3 separate regions of the Homo sapiens genome follow, and all the other regions are linked to region 1. The links are contacts of gene promoters, found by promoter capture Hi-C in blood cells and fetal thymus (Javierre and others, 2016). All regions are on one chromosome and are shown on one strand. The core of a region is centred on a gene start or on the middle of the fragment in contact, and the rest is flanking DNA. Distances in the headings are between cores, read along the strand shown.

Region 1 (4,143 bases), core at 938-3,437:
TTTTATAAGTATTCATCCCTAAGACCAGGCTCAGCTCTGTATTAGGAGACAGCTTCTATGACTAAATTGCTAGTTAAAACCAGTTTGCTCTGATAGCCTAGGAGGCTGGGCAGACTTGGGTACACTGATAGTCTCCATCCGTGGATCCTTCTCTCATCATTCTACTGAGCCCCTGATGAAGGCTAACCAAATTCAGCTGCTGAGTCAGGAGGGAGCGGACTTGGCTTTCTCCTCAAACACCGAATTGTTTCCTTTGCTACAAAACAGGCTTCTCATTCCACCAAATACCACTCTAAATGCCAGCCCCTGTAGTGTGTCCTACAAAGGGGCTGTGCACTTACCCCAGAAAACACAGGCTAACTGCAAATCCTCACGTTGGCATAGCCTTCAGATCACAAACTCCCAGGGGATGGCTTGGATTACAACTTTCAGATTTAGAAATGCTCGGGGTGGGAGGAGTAGTATGAACCCTAGACCTCAGTGAAAAGGGGCAAAGAAAACCTCTCTTCCCACATTAGAGGTGAAAGAGGAGGTTGATGCGTTTTTTTCTTTTCTTTCTGAAAGATTGCCATCATCAGAGTCACAACCAGCTGAGGGACTGGAAACCACTTTGGTTCATCTGCAGCCCCCAGACTAGCCGAATTTTCCAGGATAAAATTAGTGAACACGGCAACCAAGACAACACAGCAGTTGGCACTAATTAGCTCCCTGGGTGACAACTTTTGGTAGGAGTCATAGAGATCTTCATTTTTAGTATCTAAACTGGAACCCAGGCTCCAGGGTCCTATTCCTTCAGTAATCTAATGTCTTTGGGAATTCTTCTGTTAAATTTCTGTAATACTCTAATGGGAGAGGAAGAAAAAAGAAACAGAAAGATAATAGCTAATATAGATTGAGTGCCAGGTCCTGTTTCAAGTATTTGGCATATATTATCTCATTTAATTATTACAACAACCAGTATTATCCCCATTTTACAGACAAAAAATGAAACAAAGGTTTTGTACTTTGCCTAAGGCTACATCACAGGTAAGTAGCTGGCCTACATACATATCTGACATATAGCAGAGGAGTTGGATTTAACACAACGATGTGGGTACTAGGAAAGAGGTTGCAGAGGGCAAGCTTGTGATGCCACTAACCAGACTGACTTCACTTGGAAAGGCTGATCCTTGTTTCTGGAGATGAGACTGTGCCTACAAATAGACAATAGGAGACGTCTTTCCAAAGTCTCTGCTTTGACCCCCCACTCCCCCACCCCATGAACAGTGTTCTTTGAAAACAGTAAATCAGTTAATGGCCTGGGTCTGGCCACGGTGAACACCACAGAGCCTGCCGGAAGACCTAGTTTGTAACAAGCACTGCAGAGGGAGGTCTATTCTTGAAGGGGAAATCTCCCCAGCAACTGGCAGGGGCTTCTAAATACCGGAACACGTCCCTCCAACGTTCCTGACTGAATGAGTGGAGGGCAGGATGCCACCTTTCTAAAAGGGGCACAGTGGCCCTCCCCGGGGGCCAGGGATGGAGTTCTTGTTAGATGCTACAGAAGGAATGTGAGTGCCTTACATCCCTAGGAGAGAGAGGACAGAAGCGAAGTGAGGGGGGTAAGGGGAGCCAGAATAATCTCGGGCAGTAAGACAGATGCAGGGGGCAGTATCCAGAGGGGATGACCTACCACCTGAGAGCTCAGCATCCCCGCTTCCGGACTCTACAGCCGATTCCAATTACCCCCAAAAGCGCCGTCCACAGTAGGGAGACTGAAAGCACCCCGTCTTCCAATCGTTTCCCAGCGCCCCGAGGTGGGAGCTTTCCTAGGAGGGCAGTGGGGCGCCCCTGGAGGGTTCTTCGCGGCTCCGGTCTGCCTCGCTCTCCCTCGCCTCCCTGGGATCCCGAGCCGCAGCACCCTCCCCGCCGCAGCCCTGCCGACAGCGCCGGGGGCCGCACCGCTCACCTCGCTCATCTCCGCAGCCGGACAGGGCGCGCGAGGCGCTGCACGCACAGGTGAGGCGAGTGGCCCTCGGGGCTCCGCGGGCGACAGCTGAAAGTTGCCGGGCTCTGCGGCAGGGGTTACAGCTGACCAGGAGAGGAGAGTTAGTGCGGAGAGCCGCTGCTCTGGTGCTGGCACCCGGGATTCTCGGAGCCCAGCTCCGGCCAGGCGACCCCCTGCGACCCGTCCTGTCAGAGCCGCTCAGCTCGCCGCCTCCGGCCCCACCTTTTATACTCAGCTCGGTACCCGCCTCCAGCCCGACCAATAGAAGCTCCTCCTACCGTAGAATGACAGCCTCTTGCATCCAATGCTGGCAGGTTTAGAGGTCTGCTGCATTTCCAAACTAGGGTAAGACAGAGAGCGGGAAGGAGGGGGAGACCATCGGGGGATGCGGGGACGGAAAATGAAGTAGGGGGAGCAAAGAAAGAGAGGGAGAAAGGAGATGTACACGAAGAAGGCAAGGTGGGGAGTGGAATGGAAGGAGTGTGTGAGTCTGAGAAAGAGAAGGCCTGGAAAGAAATCAAGAGGGTACACGGAAAACAGGAAACAGTGAATGAAAGGGGTAAAGCCAAGAGATGTTGCAGATTAAGATTTCCTAGTAGAATAGCACCCTGGAGGTCGGGCGCGGTGGCTCAAGCCTGTAATTCCAGCACTTTGGGAGGCCGAGGCGGGCAGATCACAAGGTCAGGAGATCGAGACCATCCTGGCTAACACGGTGAAACCCAGTCTCTACTAAAAATACAAAAAATTAGCCAAGCGTGGTGGCAGGCGACTGTAATCCCAGCTACTCGGGAGATTGAGGCAGGAGAATGGCGTGAACCCGGGAGGTGGAGCTTGCAGTGAGCCGAGATCGCGCCACTGCACTCCAGCCTGGGTGACAGAGAAAGACTCCGTCTCAAAAAAAAAAAAAAAAAAAAGAACAGAACCCTGGACCAGAGAATAGCACAAGAGAGGGAGGAAGGCTGGGGGAAGAGAGAGAGAGACAGAATGAGAGAGAGACTGGAGCAAATGGACAGCTTTCTTTGGCAAAGAACAGGGAAATTGTGAAGTGCCTGTTTGATGTGGAAGATCATAGATCTCAGGAGTTGGAAGACATTTTAGGATTCATCAAATCCTACTGTGTCTGGAGTTGGTTCCTTCTGGTGGGTTCTTGGTCTCGCTGACTTCCAGAATGAAGCTGGGAATTTTTGCAGTGAGTGTTACAGCTCTTAAAGGTGGCACGGACACAAAGAGTGAGTCAGTGAGCGAGTGAGCAGCAGCAAGATGTATTGTGAAGAGCGAAAGAACAAAGCTTCCACAGCATGGAAGGGGACCCGAGCACGTTGCTGCTGCTGGCTGGGGTGGCCAGCTTTTATTTCCTGGGGTCACCGCCCATGTCCTGCTGTTTGGTCCATTTTACAGAGTGCTGATTGGTTCATTTTACAAACCTCTAGCTAGCTACAGAGTGCTGATTGGTGCGTTTTACAATCCTAGCTACAGAGTGCTAATTGGCACATTTTACAATCCTCTTGTAAGACAGAAAAGTTCTCCAAGTCCCCACCTGACCCAGAAGTCCAGCTGGCTTCACCTCTCAATCTCCCCTCTAAACAGGACACCCCAGCTGCTGTTGGAAATTGGGCGATGACCACTCTAGCTACTTCCTGCTGGATGGGGGCGAAGGGGCCCTGCAGTGGTAGTATCCTCCAGAGGGAAACTCTCTAGGCCAGCCAAAGGGTCAGTGGGTTGGTCCAGGGGTCCTCGGTAGAAGTTGTTAGTTGAGCTCGTTTGGGGTTCCATTTGTAAGACCATCTGTAGCTTGATGGCATTGATCCTGGAGGAAACAAATTTGACAAAGAGGTTAAAAATACAAGGCCCAAAGGCGAGTAATAGCAAGATGGCTGTCACAGGACCTAGAAAGGGGAGAAGCCATGTCGCCTAACTCTGAAGGTTGGTCTAAGGGTTTGAAAGGCTTTGTCTGATTTCAGAAGCCTCTTCCCATAAACACCGGGCGGAGTCTCGTACTATCCCTGACTGGTTAGTGTAAAAGCAACATTCTTCCCCTAAGAAGGTGAAAGTCCTCCTTTCTCAGCAGTGAGGAGGTCTAGGCCTCAGCGGTTTTGGAGAGTCACTGCTGCCAAAGAGTCTATTTGGGATTGTAGAGTAAGGATAGATTTTGTTAC
Region 2 (4,878 bases), core at 1,505-4,004, 100 kb before region 1:
TATCTATTCTTCCCATCTAACCCAAAACCCTGTAGTCTCAATTTCTTTTCAACCTCAAAAAATGTCTATTGTTATGCCACCACTATCCCAGCATGGGGGACCTCTAACCAATTTGTCTTATCTTGACTAGTCCTTAATCACCTTCTGAGGCCTGAAGGGATGGGCTAAGGACATCATACCCCCAACAGTAGAAAATGATCTAATCTCAAGGTGGGGGAGGGTGGTTAGAGAAATCAAATTTAACTTTTCTTATTTGAAACTTGATCTACTGCCCATGGTATGGGGAGAAAGGGAGTTAGAATCCTGAGGTGCATTAGGAATGATCCGGGCCTGACCAGAGACATGACTATCTCTCCCACTCTTATCACTGACAGCCCCATGATCCAGACAGTCAGAAGAAACTCAGAAAGAAGTCTATCACAAAGACTGTACAACAAGCACGAAGTCCAACCATAATTCCAAGCTCCCCAGCTGCCAACCTCAATTCCCCAGATGAACTCCAAAGCTCACACCCCTCTGCAGGTCATACTCCAGGTCCCCAAAGACCAGCCAAATCCTAAGAGCCCACCTGGAAGTCCACGTATGCTAGAACTCTGGGCAGGGCCTAATCTAGCTGAGGTCCAGAAATACAAACCTGGAACTTCATATGGACCAAGTGGCCACACACTGAAAAACCCGTATAGCGACTCAGTGAAATAAACAAGAGCCCCCAGTCAGAACTGTGAAACAGGGAAATTTTGGGGTGGGAGTAAAAGCAAATTTGGAAAATAAACTTTTTTTTGTTGAATCTTTTACTGATCTGGATTTTCCATTCTTGCTATGGCTGCCTCTTGTAACACAATTAGGAGAAGGAAGGTAGGAGAAAATAAAGTAGGGAAAAGAACATACAGTGGTTTGGGTGGAACACATTTTTACAAGAATTGAGTCAGTTATACTCCAGAAATGACCAAGAGAAAGTTGGTCTGAATCATGGAAAAAGGGCAGAACCTCAAAGAACCAGTCCCTCAACCCTACCCACTCATTTTTTATCCTGAGCATGGACAACTAACAACTACAAAATCAGAAATAGAATTGAGTAGAGTATGTATATGTGTGTTTGGAGAAGGTGGGGAAGAAAAGGTAGGGAAAACCAAAGTAGAAGATACTATGCTTGTGTAAGACTTTCTATCTAAGCCCAAGTACAAATATAGTTTGAAAATTGAAGATATTAAAGTGATTGGAAGACAGAGAAGAAAAAGACAGTAAGTAGAAATTTAAGGCAGAATAACAAACATGATGCTCTGTCACACCCCCCACCCACCCACTACCATGCTTCAATCACCCAAATGGTACGAAACCACCAAAAAATTCAACTGCCCTACCCATTTTCCAGCCTCTAACAGCTGTTTATCATTGACCCCATTTTATATTTTCCTGGCACTGGCTGTTAAATTTAATGCCCTTGCCAAACCTTTCCCAGTCCCAATGACAAAGTGTTCTGTCATGATCACTTGTCCCTCATTCCAAGGACAAAGTAGAGAACAGCTGGTTTAAAATGGAGGAAAGGTACAAGGACTTCCCAGGGCCCCTCTAGTAAAAAGGGAAAACCAATCATTACTTAAAGCCAAATACTATTTGGGACCCTGAATGAAGACTGTTAAAACAGCGGGTCCCCACCTTAACTAAGGTCTTCCTATCCAATTGACACCAGCCAGTTAACATTTCCCCTCTTCGACCCACAGCTTTAACTGGCTGGCCAACAACTCGAAGTGACAGATGAGATAAGTCTCTTATTCCAGAGTTCCCAAAAACTATCAAAACAGCATGCCTGCTAAAGCCTGGCCTATATGGATTTTAAAAGCAGCAAGTTTTCTCATTAAATTATACATTTTTGCCAGGTTTTCAACAATCCCTTCTTTTTTAAAAAAAAACTCTATGCTTCATTCACCCCAAGCCTATAACCTCAGGTCATCATCCCCTAGCTGTCACCAACACTGGTCCTCTGTGCCCCTCAATGAATCATAATTTGCTGAACTGTACCATGAAGCTTATAATCAGTCCTTAATGGGATTTTGGTGCCTATAACCCAAAAGCACTCTACATGCGTCACTTCTTTTCTTTTTCTCCTTCCTTCTCTGAGGCTTTTCTGTGATATTTAAATCTCTGGCTAAGTTCTATCTGATTCCCTGAAAACTTTTCCAATGATGAGATGTAGGAGAACTGTTTCCCTCCTGGTAAAGGTCAGATTGCGGGGAGAGGGAGGATGTAAATGCCTGAGACCCGAGGGAAGAGGAGGAAATTGGTTCCTTCCCAACAGCCATTTTCTTGGTTTCTCTAGATTTCAAGGAGAGTCAAAGATAAAATGAGTATTTAATTCAGTTTCAGAAAAAAAGGGTACATTACTTCGATGAGAAAGCATAAAATTAAGAGGCTTTTCTGGAAATCCAAGAAAAAGAAATAACCATTAATATGTTCAATGATAATTTTCTAGATCTTCCTCGTGTCCAAAGCTATATATTTTCTCCTCAAAAGCAGCTGCTCCAAGAACTAACTAGCCCTCTTTATCTCCCTCTAGCTGGGACAGACTAATTCCCCTCCACCCCCACCTCTCTTCTTTCAATAACACTGTGTAGGTGTTAATGGCCTGGGCTCTCACCAATGAAGAGAATTGTCCTTTAAGCCAGCAACCCACAGGCAGTGGCACCCAAAGCCTCACCAACCCACCCCCCAACCCGGCCCATCCCCAGGGCAGAAGCCACAGAGCTGGCATTGTTTCCACTGTCTCAGGAAGAAGGAGCCAAAAGCTGACCCTCAGCACAAATCAAAGCCCAATATGGAGAGAGAATAACTGCTTCTAGGCCGAGAGTAGGCAAGCTGTGGGCAAAAAAGGGGAGTTTTTGCAGCCACCTCATCTTTAGAAACAAGGGGAAAACTAGACCCTTTTCCACTATTATGGTCTACCAGGTACTCTACTGCTCCAAGGAGATCTGAAAATACAAAAGGATCTAAACAAATAAGGAGAACTTTTCCCAGGCTGGAGATAAGAATGACAAACAGAAAGATGGGTGAATGTAATAATGTGTAGGAAGATGATGCTGGGAGCCTCCTTTCTTCACATGGCTGCCAGCCCCATAGAGGACAACACAGTAAGAACCAGGACAACCACTCCAGACTGGTATAGCTGGGGAATCTTCAGGCCTTTTCCTAGGTCCCACATCTGTGGACAAAGCAAAAAAAAAAAAAAGGAATTTCAGTAAATAGGACATTAACAGTTCCTGTCTCAGAAAGTAATTCTACCTAAAGGAATAGATATCTCCTCTCAGCATGATTCTAGAGAAAAGCGCTTCTACCCTTATGCCCCACCTTTACCCTTCTCAAAACCCACAGTATGGAACCTATTATCCACTTATTCCAATGACAGAAAATCAGGTTCTATTGTGTGGTGATGGTAGGAGGAATGTTCTCTAGAATGCCACAGGCCCCATACGGTATACAAAAGCTTCCAGAATGAATAGATACAACTTTTCCTCAGGACCACACATCTAGATTAATGTTTCTCAAGGTGTATTCTTCCAAACACTTGCTCTCAGAATGTTGAAAGCCATTGTATGGGCCAAAAAAAAAAAAGTTCTGTGGTCATACAAAGTTCATAAACATTTAACTGCAAGACTTTCTAAACAGTTTTTTTTTTTTTTTTTTTTTTGAGACGGACTCTCACTCTGTCGCCCAGGCTGGAGTGCAGTGGCATGATCTCAGCTCACTGCAAGCTCCACCTCCCAGGTTCATGCCATTCTCTTGCCTCAGCCTCCCAAGTAGCTGGGACTAGAGGCACACGCCACCACGCCTGGCTAATTTTGTTTTTGTATTTTTAGTAGAGATGGGGTTTCATCGAGTTAGCCAGGATGGTCTTGATCTCCTGATCTCGTGATCTGCCCGCCTTGTCCTCCCAGAATGCTGGGATTACAGGCGTGAGCCACTGCGCCCAGCCTCTTACAGTTTACTAATGCACACTGTGAATCTCCAAAAGAGAGATATAATATGCCTGATTTCCTAGATACAGTCAATCTCAGAATCTTTTTATAGAGGGAAACTCTATTTATCAGAGGACTAGTATTCTAAAGGATACTCTGAGATCTAGAACACTATTTCTCAATTTTGTTTTGACTGTGACTCCACTAAGAAATACCTTTAAAACTGGAACCCAATAGATATGTATATATAATATAGCAAAAGTTGATAAAACAATATTTACCATTACTAAGTGGTGCCATATATATACAAGTATATATTTATATATTTTATATATAAATAAACTTCATTAAAAAACATATATTTTCTCCTTTTTGTGGAGAACGGGGTCTCATTATATTGTTCAGGCAGGTCTTGAACTCCTGGACTCAAGCTATCCTCCTGCCTCTGCTTCCCTAAAAGCTGGCATTACGGGCGTGAACTTCTGCACCCAGCCACTCCAGTGGCGCCATCTTGGCTCACAGCAACGTCAGCCTCCCAGGTTCAAGCGATTCTCTTGCCTCAGCCCTGCCAGTGGCTGGGACTACAGGCGCATGCCACCATGCCAAGCTAATTTTTGTATTTTTAGTAGAGATGGGGTTTCACCATGTTGGCCAGGATGGTCTCAAACTCTTGACCTCAAGTGATACACCCTCCTCAGCCTCCCAAAGTGCTGGGATTACAGGCATGAGCCACCACGCCCAGCCCCAGCCTATATTTTCTATTCTATTTAAATTTCTTTTTTTGTTGGTAGCATGCCACTAAATTGGTTTTCTACCAATTGAGTTAAAACCCACTTTTCTTTTTAATACTAAAAAATAGAGATAGACTCTTGTTATGTCTTGCCCAGGCTAGTATTGAACTCCTGGGCTCAAGCAATCCTCCCGCCTC
Region 3 (4,878 bases), core at 1,654-4,153, 82 kb before region 1:
AGAGGCTTAGATTCAGATAATTCCTGCCAATGTCTCATCAGCAGTTCCTTAAATACAGGATCCCTACACTAGAGCCACTGGCCCTACTGATGACCACGTCAGTTAAAAACATAGTCTACAGAAGCCTAGGAGAGATCCTTCAGGGTCTCAGAAGACAGAAACAAGAGCACTTTTCCAATACCACCACTGCTTCAACAAAGCAAAAGTCAATAGAAACTCCCTTTCCTACCTCGAAAGCTCTATTTGGCATCAAATTTCTGGAGCAAGAGCACACTTACACGATAGGACCTGAAGGTTGCCATCTGCTCTACTCTGTACAAATGGGCCATCTCCTGGCAAGACTGTAATGATGCCTGATGTGATGAATAAAACTTAGGCATTGCTCCCAGGCTAAAGTAACAAAAGAGACGCGATGGAGGGGCTCAGACAGAGCTTTACATAAGGTAAAACAGTGGGGCTTCTGTCTCTCAGGTATATAATTTCATACCGATTCTAGGCAAGATATTTCCTCTTATTCCCTAGGATGAGGTTAAAGATATACCAAGGGGCCAGGCACAGTGGCTCACGCCTGTAACCCCAGCACTTTGGGAGGCCGAGGCGGGCAGATTACCTGAGGTCAGGAGTTCAGAAACCCCATCTTTACCAAAAATACAAAAATTAGCAGGGAATGGTGGTGGGCGCCTGTAATCCCAGCTACTTGAGAGGTTGAGGCAGAAGAATAGCTTGAACCCAGGAGGCTGGTCTCATGAGGTTGCAGTGAGCCAAGGCTGTGCCATTGCACTCCAGCCTGGGCAACAAGAGCGAAACTCTGTCTCAAAAAAAAAAAAAAAAGACATACCAGGGAACTATCCACAGGAGAGAAAAGTTTGTACACACAGCAGGGATTTACACACTGTTCTAAGTCATAAGCTCATTTTCCTTTGCCAGCAAAGGTCCCAGGACTATCAACTTGGAACAGAAGTCTTGTTGAGTATGTGCTAATAGTGCATTGGAGCATTTCTTTTAGAAAGCACTCCACTACTCCTAGTTTGCACCTGTTCTCCCTGTGGATATATATGGGCTAGATCACCTTCGCTGGGAGAGAACACAAGTTCCCCCAATGTCTCAAGGAGACTAATAGAGAGCAAACTCAGATTTACCTATGCAGCACTCTCATGTACAATAACCTCTTCTGGCTCCCACTGAACTGAATAGCTTTCAGCTAAACTAGTAATCACATCACACAGAAATGCCAGTTGAAATACAATACTAGTTAGGTAGTTATTATAGTCAATATGCAGGGGACCAAAATAAGATACTTCTAGAGCCAAAAAATATGATTATAAATGGAATAGAAATTTGGGACAGAAATATATAAAACACATTAACAAAAAAGAGAGTGGTATTCATTTTGTATTCACCAAATATTTACTAAATTATCTACTGCATTCTAGGTACCCTACTAGATAATTAAAAATACAGACAGATGCAGTCTAAGCCCTCAGGGAACAGACAATCCAGTAAGGAAGAACAACAATGAACAAGTAAATTACAACTATGATTATGAAAGAAAAACTAGAATGCTTTAAGAGCATGTATCCAGGGAACATAATCTAGTTTTTGTTTCTGTTTTTGGTGGGGGTAGGAGAGCAAAGTATGCTATAAGGCTAAATAAAGGAAAGCTAAAAAAGTAAAAATATGTTACATGCACATTCTTGTGAGAAAATAAATACATAAAAAAGCAAAAATGTCTATGTCTCCAGCACCAGCCAGACATAATTTTTAAATCTAGCTGACCCTCTTGTAAAGTATATCCCTACTGTGAAAAGATACATCAGATCCCAGAAAACTGATTATAATCTGCACTCCATATAATAAACCTTCCTACCTAAAAAGGATGTACTAATTATCTAAGACCAGTATATAATTCACTCTGTAGCTGCAGTTCATATTATATAAATGAATAAATAGACATTCTGGTCTGTAAATCAAGATTTTGTGAGACTGGTTAGTGAGCTAGTCTTTGGGGGACTGAGCATGTCTAGGTGATAAGAATGGGTGCTAAAACTGAGCTTCTGGAAAAATAAGGTTGGACTGTGTTTCATCAATGATCAGTCAGCCAGCCCATCTCTATTACATTTCTCTGCTCTCTATAATTTCAATAAACATGATATCAGGAAGTGCTAGGGAATGGTTTAAAAATTTGCTAAGAAACTAATCTGGGCCAGGCACAGTGGCTCATGTCTGTAATCCCAGCACTTTGGAAGGCTGAGGCAGGCGGATCATGAGGTCAGATCAAGACCATCCTGGCTAACATGGTGAAACCCCGTCTCTACTAAAAATACAAAAATTTAGCCAGGCGTGGTGGCACATGCCTGTAATCCCAGCTACTCAGGAGGCTGAGGCAGGAGAATCGCTGGAACCCAGCAGGCGGAGGTTGCAGTGAGCCGAGATCGCGCCACTGCACTCCAGCCTGGGCAAAAGAGCAAGACTCTGTCTCAAAAAGAAAAAAAAGAAGAAAAGAATCTGAGCACAGTGCAAACTCATAATTAATTGTTAAAGGGATGAATGAACAATAAACTTAAGAGACTTACTGTTCCCTCTAAATCAAGTGCTGAGTTTCAAAGGAGGCGGAGACTAGGGCCAATGAAACAGCCAAGTTTTTCAAAGAAGCACATATGTGTGTGTAAAAACACATATACATACCTGCACTCAAAGCAATACCAGTGCCACGGTGGCAGATGGACATCGCCATGGGAAGAGACCAACTGTAAAGAAACACACAAAGACAATTTTAAAAAGGAAAAGATGACACCATAGTAGAGAGTCTATCTTGGCAAAAATATAAACTAATTCTGAAATAGGCACTTTTTTTTCTTTTTTTTTTTTTGAGACAGAGTCTCGCTCTGTTGCCCAGGCTGGCAATGGCATGATCTCAGCTCACTGCAACCTCCACTTCCCGGGTCCAAGCAATTCTCCTGAATAGGTAATATTTTCTTAAAACAAAACAAAACAAAACAAAAAATCACCAGCTTTTGCATTCCTGTCTTTTCACTTTTTTTTTTACCCCCCCGGAACAGGGTCTTGCTCTGTCACCCAGGCTGGAGTCCCATGCCACAGTCTCAGCTCACTCCAACCTCTGCCTCCCGGGTTCATGAGATTCTCCTGCCTCAGCCTCCTGAGTAGCTGGGATTACAGGTGCCTGCCACCAGGTCCGCCTAATTTTTGTATTTTTAGTAAAGGGGTTTCATCACCTTAGCCAGGCTGGTCTTGATCTGATCTCATGATCCGCCCACCTCGGCCTCCCAAAGTACTGGAATTACAGGTGTGAGCCACTGTGCCCAGCCGTGTTTCCACTTTTTACTTTAAAAATACAAACCTGGGCCAGGCGCGGTGCCTCACGCCTGTAATCCCAGCACTTTGGGAGGCCAAGGCAGGTGGATCACCTGAGGTCAGGAGTTCGCAATCAGCCTGACCAACATGGAGAAACCCCGTCTCTACTGAAAATACAAAATTAGCCGGATGTGGTGGCACATGCCTGTAATCTCAGTTACTCGGGAGGCTGAGGCAGGAAAATTGCTTGAACCCAGGAGGTGGAGGTTGCGGTGAGCCAAGATCGCACCATTGCACTCCAGCTCCAGTCTGGGCAACAAGAGTGAAACTCTGTCTCCAAAAAAAAAAAAAAAAAAAAAAAAAAAACACCTGTATCAGGATTAGGTTACAAAAATAAATTAAAGAATAAAGAAAACTGATTTATGGAGAAGGATCCCTACCTTTACCAGACTGCATCACTGATAGGGCTGAGAAAAAAAAAAATGATTATAACTCAAAACTCCTTTCGCAAGGAGAAACATGGGTCAAAGACACTCATTAAAGTTGGAGCTGGCATGGTGGCTCACACCTGTAATCCTAGTACTTTGGGAGGCCAAGGCGGGGGCCGTTGAGTTCAGGAGTTCAAGGTCAACCTAGGCAACGTAATGAGACCCCATCTTTACGAAAAAAAAAAAAAAAATTAGCTGGGTGTGGTGGCAGAGGCCTGTGGTCCCAGCTACTTGGGAGACTGAAGTGAGAGGGTCGCTTGAGGCCAGGAACTCCAGACTGCAGTGAGCTATGACTGTGCCACTGTACTCCAGCCCGGGTTGGGGAGAGAGAGACAGAGACCATGCCTCTAAATAAATAAATACAGTTGATACAATTAGAAAGTAATCACTATAGGCCGGGCACGGTGGCTCACGCCTGTAATCCCAGCACTTTAAGAGGCTGAGGCGGGTGGATCATGAGGTCAGGTGTTCGAGACCAGGCTGGCCAACACGGTGAAACCCCATCTCTACTAAAAATACAAAAATTTAGCCAGGCGTGGTGGTGCATGCCTGTAATCCCAGCTACTTGGGAGGCTGAGGCAGGAGAATGACTTGAATCCGGGGGGCGGAGTTTGGCGTAAATGGAGATCACGCCACTGCACTCCAGTCTGGGCGACAGAGGGTGACTCCATCTCAAAAAAAAGAAAAAGAAAGAAAGCAATCACTGTAATACAACCTGGGTCCCTCTATTTCTCCAGGTATAACACTGATGGAAGAAAACCTGAGTTTCATTTATCCACAGTTTCATATAATACATGGTCATCCTTGAATCCTCCCTTATTATATGCCCCAAAATATCCAAACTGAACATACCACTTATTTCCTAATAAGTTACCTATCCCAAATTTTTATATCCAATCTTCTGGATTTAGTATATATTTCTTAATCCACAGTAGTTCTGAAATACTTTTCATCATCAAACCCCTTTTTAAATTATGAATCATCAACTTTCCATTGAAGGACAACCAACATTGTTATTCTAGACCTAGTTCTCATGCTCAAGAGAGAACTGGTGGGTAAAATGGAAAGAACAAGAGTC

Evidence for each region. Contacts are between HindIII fragments. The CHiCAGO score rates a contact against its expected background, and 5 or more counts as called.
Region 2: a contact is called between a fragment that was not itself captured here and the fragment with the promoter of PCP4L1 in region 1, in 6 of 17 cell types (M0 macrophages, megakaryocytes, M1 macrophages and 3 more). The highest score is 6.8, in M0 macrophages.
Region 3: a contact is called between a fragment that was not itself captured here and the fragment with the promoter of PCP4L1 in region 1, in 5 of 17 cell types (M1 macrophages, M2 macrophages, erythroblasts and 2 more). The highest score is 6.9, in M1 macrophages.

What each region holds. Positions count from the first base shown.
Region 1 is chr1:161,256,789-161,260,931 of GRCh38, reverse strand. It overlaps PCP4L1 (Purkinje cell protein 4 like 1), which reads right to left and starts at 2,187. Exons shown (of 3, transcript NM_001102566.2): 1 at 1,949-2,187. The coding sequence starts at 1,957. RefSeq lists an enhancer at 1,319-1,819. The HindIII fragment of the contact is 2,153 bases long and covers 1,125-3,277 here.
Region 2 is chr1:161,360,647-161,365,524 of GRCh38, reverse strand. SDHC (succinate dehydrogenase complex subunit C) reads right to left here. Exons shown (of 6, transcript NM_003001.5): 6 at 2,319-3,196. The coding sequence ends at 3,092. It overlaps CFAP126 (cilia and flagella associated protein 126), which reads left to right. Exons shown (of 5, transcript NM_001013625.4): 5 at 375-792. The coding sequence ends at 560. Among named protein-coding and RNA genes, the nearest start is that of CFAP126, 4.8 kb to the left of the region's middle. RefSeq lists an enhancer at 1-346. The HindIII fragment of the contact is 1,452 bases long and covers 2,029-3,480 here.
Region 3 is chr1:161,338,463-161,343,340 of GRCh38, reverse strand. SDHC (succinate dehydrogenase complex subunit C) reads right to left here. Exons shown (of 6, transcript NM_003001.5): 4 at 2,686-2,747. Among named protein-coding and RNA genes, the nearest start is that of SDHC, 27 kb to the right of the region's middle. The HindIII fragment of the contact is 9,839 bases long and covers 1-4,878 here.